3 separate regions of the Homo sapiens genome follow, and all the other regions are linked to region 1. Evidence: promoter capture Hi-C in human tissues and cell types (Jung and others, 2019). All regions are on one chromosome and are shown on one strand. The core of a region is centred on a gene start or on the middle of the fragment in contact, and the rest is flanking DNA. Distances in the headings are between cores, read along the strand shown. Region 1 holds the start of ENPP1 (ectonucleotide pyrophosphatase/phosphodiesterase 1). Region 2 overlaps ENPP1 (ectonucleotide pyrophosphatase/phosphodiesterase 1). Region 3 overlaps ENPP1 (ectonucleotide pyrophosphatase/phosphodiesterase 1).

Region 1 (2,561 bases), core at 23-2,522:
TACAAAGCATTATTCAATCATATGTAAGGGGATATATTTTAGGGTACACTATACATAGAAATCTGTGATTTCCATATAATACAATAAAAATGATTCTATTTCCTTGCTGTTTTCAATTTACTTCCCTACCTACATTCTTCAGCTTGATTTTCACAATAATCCCATGCAATGCACAAGGGAGTTGATGTTGTCCCATTTTCACACATTAGAAATTGAGGTTTAGGGACAGTTACGCAAGGCCTCAGCAAATAATAACAGCCAGGAATCCAGGCCTTCTCTCAATCAGCACTTCCCACCATGAATTCAGAATAAAAACCAACCCCCACATTTCATGAAGTTGACTGTGGGTCCTGCAAATGTCATAGCAAAATAGCAGAGGAGTAATAGGTAGCTTTTGTTAGCAACACAAACCGTGTAGCCTCTGGTTAGAAGAGTGGGCAAAGAATCATAAAGGTTTCTTCAGTCACATAATGTGAACATCCATGGAATTTCTGAGCACCTGCAAGGAAATTCCAAAACGGAGCGAAAGGGAAAAAGTGTTCCGTAGAGTTCCTAATAAAACTTAAAGAGCTCCGCTAACTCTTCAACTGCAATCAGTTAACCCAAGTGAAGTCATGTATACTGCGCCCAGAGCCCCCTAAAAGAAGCAACACATTGATGCACCTTCTTAAGACCAACAACTTTCGCGTTTGACATTTTTCTCCTCTAAAAACCCGTACTCTCCTGGGGCAGGGGGTCGAGTATTTCTAAGGATGACCGTTTTGAACAGCCTGCTTTCACAGGCATCCATAATTCAAGTGAGAGTGAACCATCCTGCCCTGGCAAGGTACCTGGCAGGGGCGGCTGTGTAGGGCACTTGCAAAGGCTGCGGAGGAGAGCGCGCGGGCGAAGAAGCACTCCCGGACCATGCCTCTCTCCGGTGCCCGGTGCTGACTGCGCTGAGAGCGCAGGAGCTCGGCGCCGCCCTCCCCGTACTCCCAGCCCTCCCGGGCGCCGGGGCCTGGCCGCGGACCTACCAGCGAGAGTACTTTATAGGTGTTGGGGTCCTTGGCAGTGCGGGCGCGCGCCGCCTTCTCCAGCGGCTCCTCCCCCACGTCCATAGGGGCCAGCAAGGACGCGGCCGCCTGCGGGTCCCCGGGCGCCTCGGCAGCGTGGCTGCGGCCCCGATCGCGGCCGTTCCCCGCCGGGCCCTCCCGGGGAGCGCGCCCGCCCTCGCCGCCGCGGCTCCCGCCCCCCGCGCAGCCGTCGCGCTCCATCGTGGCCCCGGCCGCTCCGGCCCCGCTGCCCGGCCGCGCCTTTAATAGGCCCCGCGCCGCCCGCCCCGCCCCGCCCCTCCCCGCCGCGCCCGCCCCTCGCGGTCAGATCCTTGGCTCCCCGCCCTACACCCGGCTCTCGCAGTCAGGGCAAAGCGACTCAACGCCCCGGATTATTTGGCTTCCTGTCTGATTTCGGGCACTCTGTGTGTCGGTTATTTTGGGTCCCTTACGTGGGCGTGTCTTAAACTTCCCCCCAAGCCGTCCCCTCCCCGCGCCCCGGCCACCCTCCCGACACTTGCAGGAATCGCCCTGCGTGGCCTCGCGGCGCGGGCTGGGCTGGAATTGCAGCGTGTGGTCTGCAGAGGGCATGAGATCATGGGGCCCCAAAATAGAGCGGGGAGGAGGAGAAGGATGCAGCCGCCGATGCCGGTCCGGCTTCTCAAAGGCGGGAGAGAGTGGAGTCTTGGGGTCGACCTGTGAGTTTCTGGATGGAAATGCAAATGAACCATGGAGGAAGGCGACTTTCTGTTTCTCCCCCTCTGCGCCCCGTCCCCCACTACCTACGGTACTCTGAGAGAGAAATCGTCCACTTAAAATACGTGGGTTCACATGTACTGAACACACGTAAGGGATATTTCGATTCCCACGGTTTTATGTGGTTTCTGGAGTCTTCTCGCTATTGTTTGTATGTATATTTGCTTATTTTTCTAGACTTTCTGTATTGAAGGTTTCAGGAGTTGGCGTTGCCCTCTCCTGAGGTTGACACTGATACCTAGCTATATCAAAAGTGTTAATGCAATCTGAAATACTTTGATAAGCCTTATTTTTCAACTAGGACGCTAACAGTGAGCTGATTCTTGGTGGGTTTTGTTTTACCTTTGATTCTGGAACTTGTACATTTTCTGGCTCATCACTTAGCAAAATCACCAGTGTGTAGTGAAGTGAGACAGAGGGAAACCAGTGACTTCGAACTACTTTGCAATACCCAGGACTGACTTCAGGTACCAAGGAAAACAATTAATTTTCAATACATTTTGAATACATGAATATATACAAGTGTTTACAAATGAGAATGAATGTTTAACAAATATAAAATGCATGTTATCCCTTTAAAATAGTCAACTTGGGATGCTCTTCATTTATACTGACTCATCCATCCACCCATCCATTTATTCATCAAGTAATGAATCCTTCAACTCAATCTTTTGGCCTCCAACTATGCATACCATATAAAAAATGAATTAAAATGTATCTTTCCTTAAGTGTGGTGGAAGCGGGGGTGGGGGGGTAGGACCAACTCGTAAA
Region 2 (2,561 bases), core at 44-2,543, 61 kb before region 1:
CAGTGGCATGATCTTAGCTCACTGTAACCTCCGCCTCCTGGGTTCAAGCGATTCTTGTACCTCAGCCTCCAGAGCAGCTGGGATTACAGGCAGCTGCCACCAAGCCAGGCTAATTTTTGTATTTTTAGTATAGATATAGTATAGTATCGTATATGTATTTTTAGGGTTTCACCATGTTGGCCAGGCTGGTCTCGAACTCCTGACCTCAGGTGATCCACCCACTTTGGCCTCCCAAAGTGCTGCGATTACAGGCATGAGCCACTGTGCCCGGCCTAAAGGAAGGTATTCTTAATATGACCATATTCAAAGTTATCACAGAGATATACTTACATGAATAGTATTTATCTGGGACATCAGAGGGTCTCAATCGAGCTGCAGGTCCATAGATAACTTTAATATTTTTAACATCCCCCAAATATTTATTCAGATATATGTATTTCTTACAACTGCCTTGTTCCATGCCTAGGAGAAAAAAAAAATCCCAAAACATGCTGTAACTTTAACAAAAAATTTAATATGCAGAGCAGAACTTCTTTCACTTCCAAGGTTAAATTCGTTAAACATGGGTGTAGCACTCATATTAGTTGAAGATCTGATAGGTAAGACAGAATTTCAGCTGTACCTATCACTTCACTTTTTTCAAAATCTTTTCCGTCACCCAAATTTTGGTTAATGTTTCTTCTTATTTATATATTACAATATCATTATGTGAGCAAAGAAGAATGTCTTATCACATTTTTAGACCGAATGTGAAAGCCCAGTTATTTGCCCCAAACCACCTAGGATATTAACTGGGAGTGTATGTGTATGATTCACTCTCATTCCAAGACTGGTACTTCTTTGCATGTAACTTCTTAGGACTGCTTCTAAACACAGATTTCTATAATTATTTCTGAAGCAAAAAACAAGAACAAAAACAAAAAGAACCTATTTTCTATTTTCCATAGGCACGCTGCTCCTATAGTCCCCAAACTGTACACAAGCGTGTTACAAAGATCACAGTAAGTAAAAGTGAAAATATTATCAAAATTAATATATCATGCTTCTAAAGTCAGATTTATCAAGCTAAAGAAAATTGAAGGCTGGGCACGATGGCTAATGCCTGTAATCCCACTACTTTGGAAGGCAGCAGTGGGAGCTTGAGAGCAAGAGTTTGAGACCAGCCTGCTCAACATAGCAAGATCCCATGTCTACCAAAAAAAATTTTTTTTAATTAGCCAGGTGTGGTGGCACATGCCAGTAGTTCCAGCTACTCAGGAGGCTGAGGTAGGAGAATCACTTGAGCCCAGGAAGTTGAGGCTGCAGTGAGCTGTGATCATGCTACTGCACTCCAGCCTGGCTAACAGAATGAGACTGTCTCAAAAACAACAACAAAAAAAGGAAATTGAAGCTATAATAATCAGTTCCAACTAAATCTAAAATTGTAGAGTTACACAAATTTAATGTTGAAAATATATATTTTTTAGCTATTCAAATTCTTGGTGTATTGTGCTTGATAGGCACTTAGGTTTCTGTGAATTCTGTGTTTCACTTATATTTTATATTTAATGTATTTTTTTCCTAAAGACTGTCCATAAGAAACTACATTTTTAAAAAAGAATTAACTACAACATTCAGAAAAAATTGGGAAACCATCAAGTAAACTTTCTTCAGCCCTTTATCCTGAAGAGTAAATAATGCAAATTCAGATTACCATGATCTGAAATAAGGATGAGGTTCAGGCATCTGTGCAAGTTCAGCTCTTTCAGACCATCCATCAGCATACCAACCATACCATCAACCCTCTGCAAGGCTTTGATGACCTAAGAATGGGAAGCAACAACCTCATGTGATACCTTCCACACTAATGGCTATTTATACATAAAGCTATCTCTGTTAAAAAAAAAAAAAAAGAAAGAAACAAAGAAAGAAAGAAAGACAGACAGATAGATAGATAAGGGCCAGTGGATGCAACTACAATGAGCTGATTCACATTAGACTAAGACAGGTCAGGGTCAGAGATACAAAGAACAGTAAATAACTGCAGATCATTAACAATGCAAGAGTCCTAATTCTATACACGTTCAATTTTAAGTTTTGGGAATGAGATTAGCTGATCTATTCCTGAGGTCAGAATGCTACTACTTAGATTAGACCCAACTTAAGCCAAAATAATAATAGCTCAAATCTACAGTGTTTGGCCAGAAACCAATATGTTCTTAATTACCACTTCATTTTCCACAATTCATTTCTTCTTATACTTTCTGATCATTCAAATGGTCACTGTATAAATATGTTTCCTAATTTTCAAAAATGTTCAAATTATTCATGAAATGCTTCTTATAATTCAATGTATTTAATTTTCTAAATTAGAACTCATAGGAATATAACCCATTATTTCCTTACAAACTGCATGTATTTTACATATGAATATCACAAGAACACAGAATGACAAATGATATTGGCAAACTGCTTTCTGGCACTTATTTTATCCTCTCTCCTTGCAAAACCATTTGAGAAAAATTTTTGTGCAGTTTTGTGTATTTTCTGTAATGTGTGGAATCAGCTTAATCTTCATTCAT
Region 3 (2,561 bases), core at 17-2,516, 42 kb before region 1:
TTGACACACAGAACTGTAGTTGATGCAGCAGTCGCCCTTGTCCTTGCAGTCATCTGAACAGGCACAGAGGCTTCTGGTCAACCTTTTCTCACCACACCTGAATTTGTTGCAAGTCCATATATGTTCTAGAAACAAACATCAGCAAAATGTGTTTTATGTCTCAAATTCAACATGTCCAAAGTGAACACAGAATTGCTGTCTTCCTGAGTATGATCCATGAGCAACAATGAACAATTTCACAGCTCTTAGTCACTCACAGAATCTGCCACTACCATGGCCACTCTGAACTAATGGGGTAAAATATGTAGGAACCAATTATTATTATTTCACTAAAAGTCCAGAATTTTGTCATTTTCAAATTTAGATGCACCTTACCATATGCAATTCATATGTAGACCTGGCTTCTTCTACCTGCTAAAATTTAATCTAAGTCTGACTCTCAGGTCAAGGTGAGAGGATTGCTTGAGGCCAGGAGTTTGGGATCAACCTGGGCAATGTAGTGAGACCTCATCTCTACAAACATTTTAAAAATTAGCTGGGCATAATGGTGTGAGCCTGTAGTTCCAGCTACTTGGGAGGCTGAGGCAGGAGGATCTCTTGAGCCCAGGAGTTCAAGGTTGCAACGAGCCATGGTCGAGCAACGGCTCTCCAGCCTGGGTGACAGAACAAGTCCCTGTCTTTAAAAAATAAATACTAATGAAAAATAAATAAATCTCTCTCATTTAAAAATTATTCCATGTCATATGCAGAGAATTCCAAATCTAACTAAGAAAATTTTCATATTCTGATAGTTTTATTTTGAAAAATATAGGTGGACATATAAGATCTCTTGCCGTCAAAGAACCATAATGAAAATATTTCTATATTTCAAGCAGGCTTTTAGAATTTGAATGCAAATTAGATTACAAAGGCTTTCAGCATACATTAAAAATAGACAAAGTTCTGCTATCCATAAAATGTTTAACAGAGAAATTCTGTAAATTTTTTTCTCTTAAGGAACTGTTGAAAGAAAATATAAAAGCTAATGTCAAAACGTGTATGTATGCTAAACTAAAAAAAATTCAAATGAATTAGGTAAATCACATACCTGAAAGACACAGAACTTTCCTTGATCTTTTCCTAATGACCATAACTCCACTTTTTTCCCTGCTCATCCTTACCTGGTTCTATGCACGTCTCCTGGTAATCTAAACAGCAGTTTCCAAGCTCAACACAGGCAGCATCACAGCGACAGTTCCCAAATGTTCTCTCGAAACAGCGACCTTTGCAACTTTTAACTGAAAAAATTGAACGATAAGTCAGATGTTTCTAATCATTATATAATTCAAAGTAAACATCAACGAATACAACTAAGTTAGGTGTACACTAGGTTCAAATACTACTTTAGAAAATACAGATGGGGTAATAAAGTAAGGCAAAAATCTTTTCACAAATACACACAAAAAGTGATACAAACAGAAAGTAACCTTATGTGCCTGGTTTGTGATTTTTATCTCCTGATGTAGGAAAGAAAGATAACTTTTTAATGATTATTATTACAAACGTTACTGGGTCTGATAAGACTTAAATAACCATGGTGTGATAAAATAAAAGTCAGAATAAAGGCTTGTTCTGAATACTTTGTGCTATGAAAAAGTTGGCTTAAGCAGGCATGGGGTTCCCTAAAATTTCAAAATGTGGGAAAAATTTTTTTTAGAAGTGGTTAAGAATATTTTAGAAAGGAAAAGATTACCTAGCCTGCCTCACTCTCAATCCTGGTGTAAAGAAGTAGTGGGTTTGTTCAGAACATGCTCCCTGGCATAGCTCTTCCCTCCCTGACCTGAAACACCCATTTCACCTTTAGATCCAGACTGGCTCCCTCTAAAAAGCTTTCCTAACTCCCCAGCTAGGCCTGATTTCCATTTTTTTAAGCTCATATAAAACCTTGTCCTTCCCCTCAATTACTTAATTCCACACGTAACTAGGTTATTTGGTTAATATCCCAGTTAGACGGCAAACCAAGACCACATCTGGCTTTGCCCAGCATACTGTCTCCCTAAAACCCAGCCAGGTGCATGCCATATAGTTGAGATTAGCACATTTTTGCTAAATGAATAAATGGTAGACATGGGAGGAAAGTACTTTTCATGACAGTTTTTTACTGTTGAAGTTCATTACTAGATACCTTGAATAAGCCAGGTTTCACTGGAGAGCTAGAAAATTAGGACAATGAGAAAAAAAGAAAAAAAGGAACACATGGAAAATAAGGGACATCCAACAACAACAAAAAAGAAATAATCTTAGTTCTTGACTTTAATGGTGTTCTGACCCAAAAAGACACTGCCATGGAATTTACCTCTCATTTGACACTGGGAAATCAGGCAATTTTAAGAAGATGAAGTAACAATAATAATTTCTAGTGTCAGAAATACGAACTTTCCTGACCTGGAGTGGGGGTCAGGGAAGTCTATTGGAATAATAGCTATTACTTGGAGCTCATTAATATGCACCTAATAATTTTTAAAAATATGATGCATACTATGTTGGGCTTGGATTAAAATTGTTATTTTTCATTTTTAATT

Evidence for each region. Contacts are between HindIII fragments. The study calls those that stand out against the background at their distance.
Region 2: a contact is called between a fragment that was not itself captured here and the fragment with the promoter of ENPP1 in region 1, in 1 of the 25 tissues and cell types used here (IMR-90 fibroblasts).
Region 3: a contact is called between a fragment that was not itself captured here and the fragment with the promoter of ENPP1 in region 1, in 4 of the 25 tissues and cell types used here (IMR-90 fibroblasts, mesendoderm cells, neural progenitor cells and 1 more).

The regions. Positions count from the first base shown.
Region 1 is chr6:131,806,731-131,809,291 of GRCh38, reverse strand. It overlaps ENPP1 (ectonucleotide pyrophosphatase/phosphodiesterase 1), which reads right to left and starts at 1,272. Exons shown (of 25, transcript NM_006208.3): 1 at 1,017-1,272. The coding sequence starts at 1,256. The HindIII fragment of the contact is 10,154 bases long and covers 1-2,561 here.
Region 2 is chr6:131,867,259-131,869,819 of GRCh38, reverse strand. ENPP1 (ectonucleotide pyrophosphatase/phosphodiesterase 1) reads right to left here. Exons shown (of 25, transcript NM_006208.3): 12 at 1,694-1,802; 13 at 331-462. Among named protein-coding and RNA genes, the nearest start is that of CCN2-AS1, 33 kb to the left of the region's middle. The HindIII fragment of the contact is 5,038 bases long and covers 1-2,561 here.
Region 3 is chr6:131,848,706-131,851,266 of GRCh38, reverse strand. It overlaps ENPP1 (ectonucleotide pyrophosphatase/phosphodiesterase 1), which reads right to left. Exons shown (of 25, transcript NM_006208.3): 3 at 1,161-1,277; 4 at 1-125. Among named protein-coding and RNA genes, the nearest start is that of ENPP1, 42 kb to the right of the region's middle. The HindIII fragment of the contact is 8,629 bases long and covers 1-2,561 here.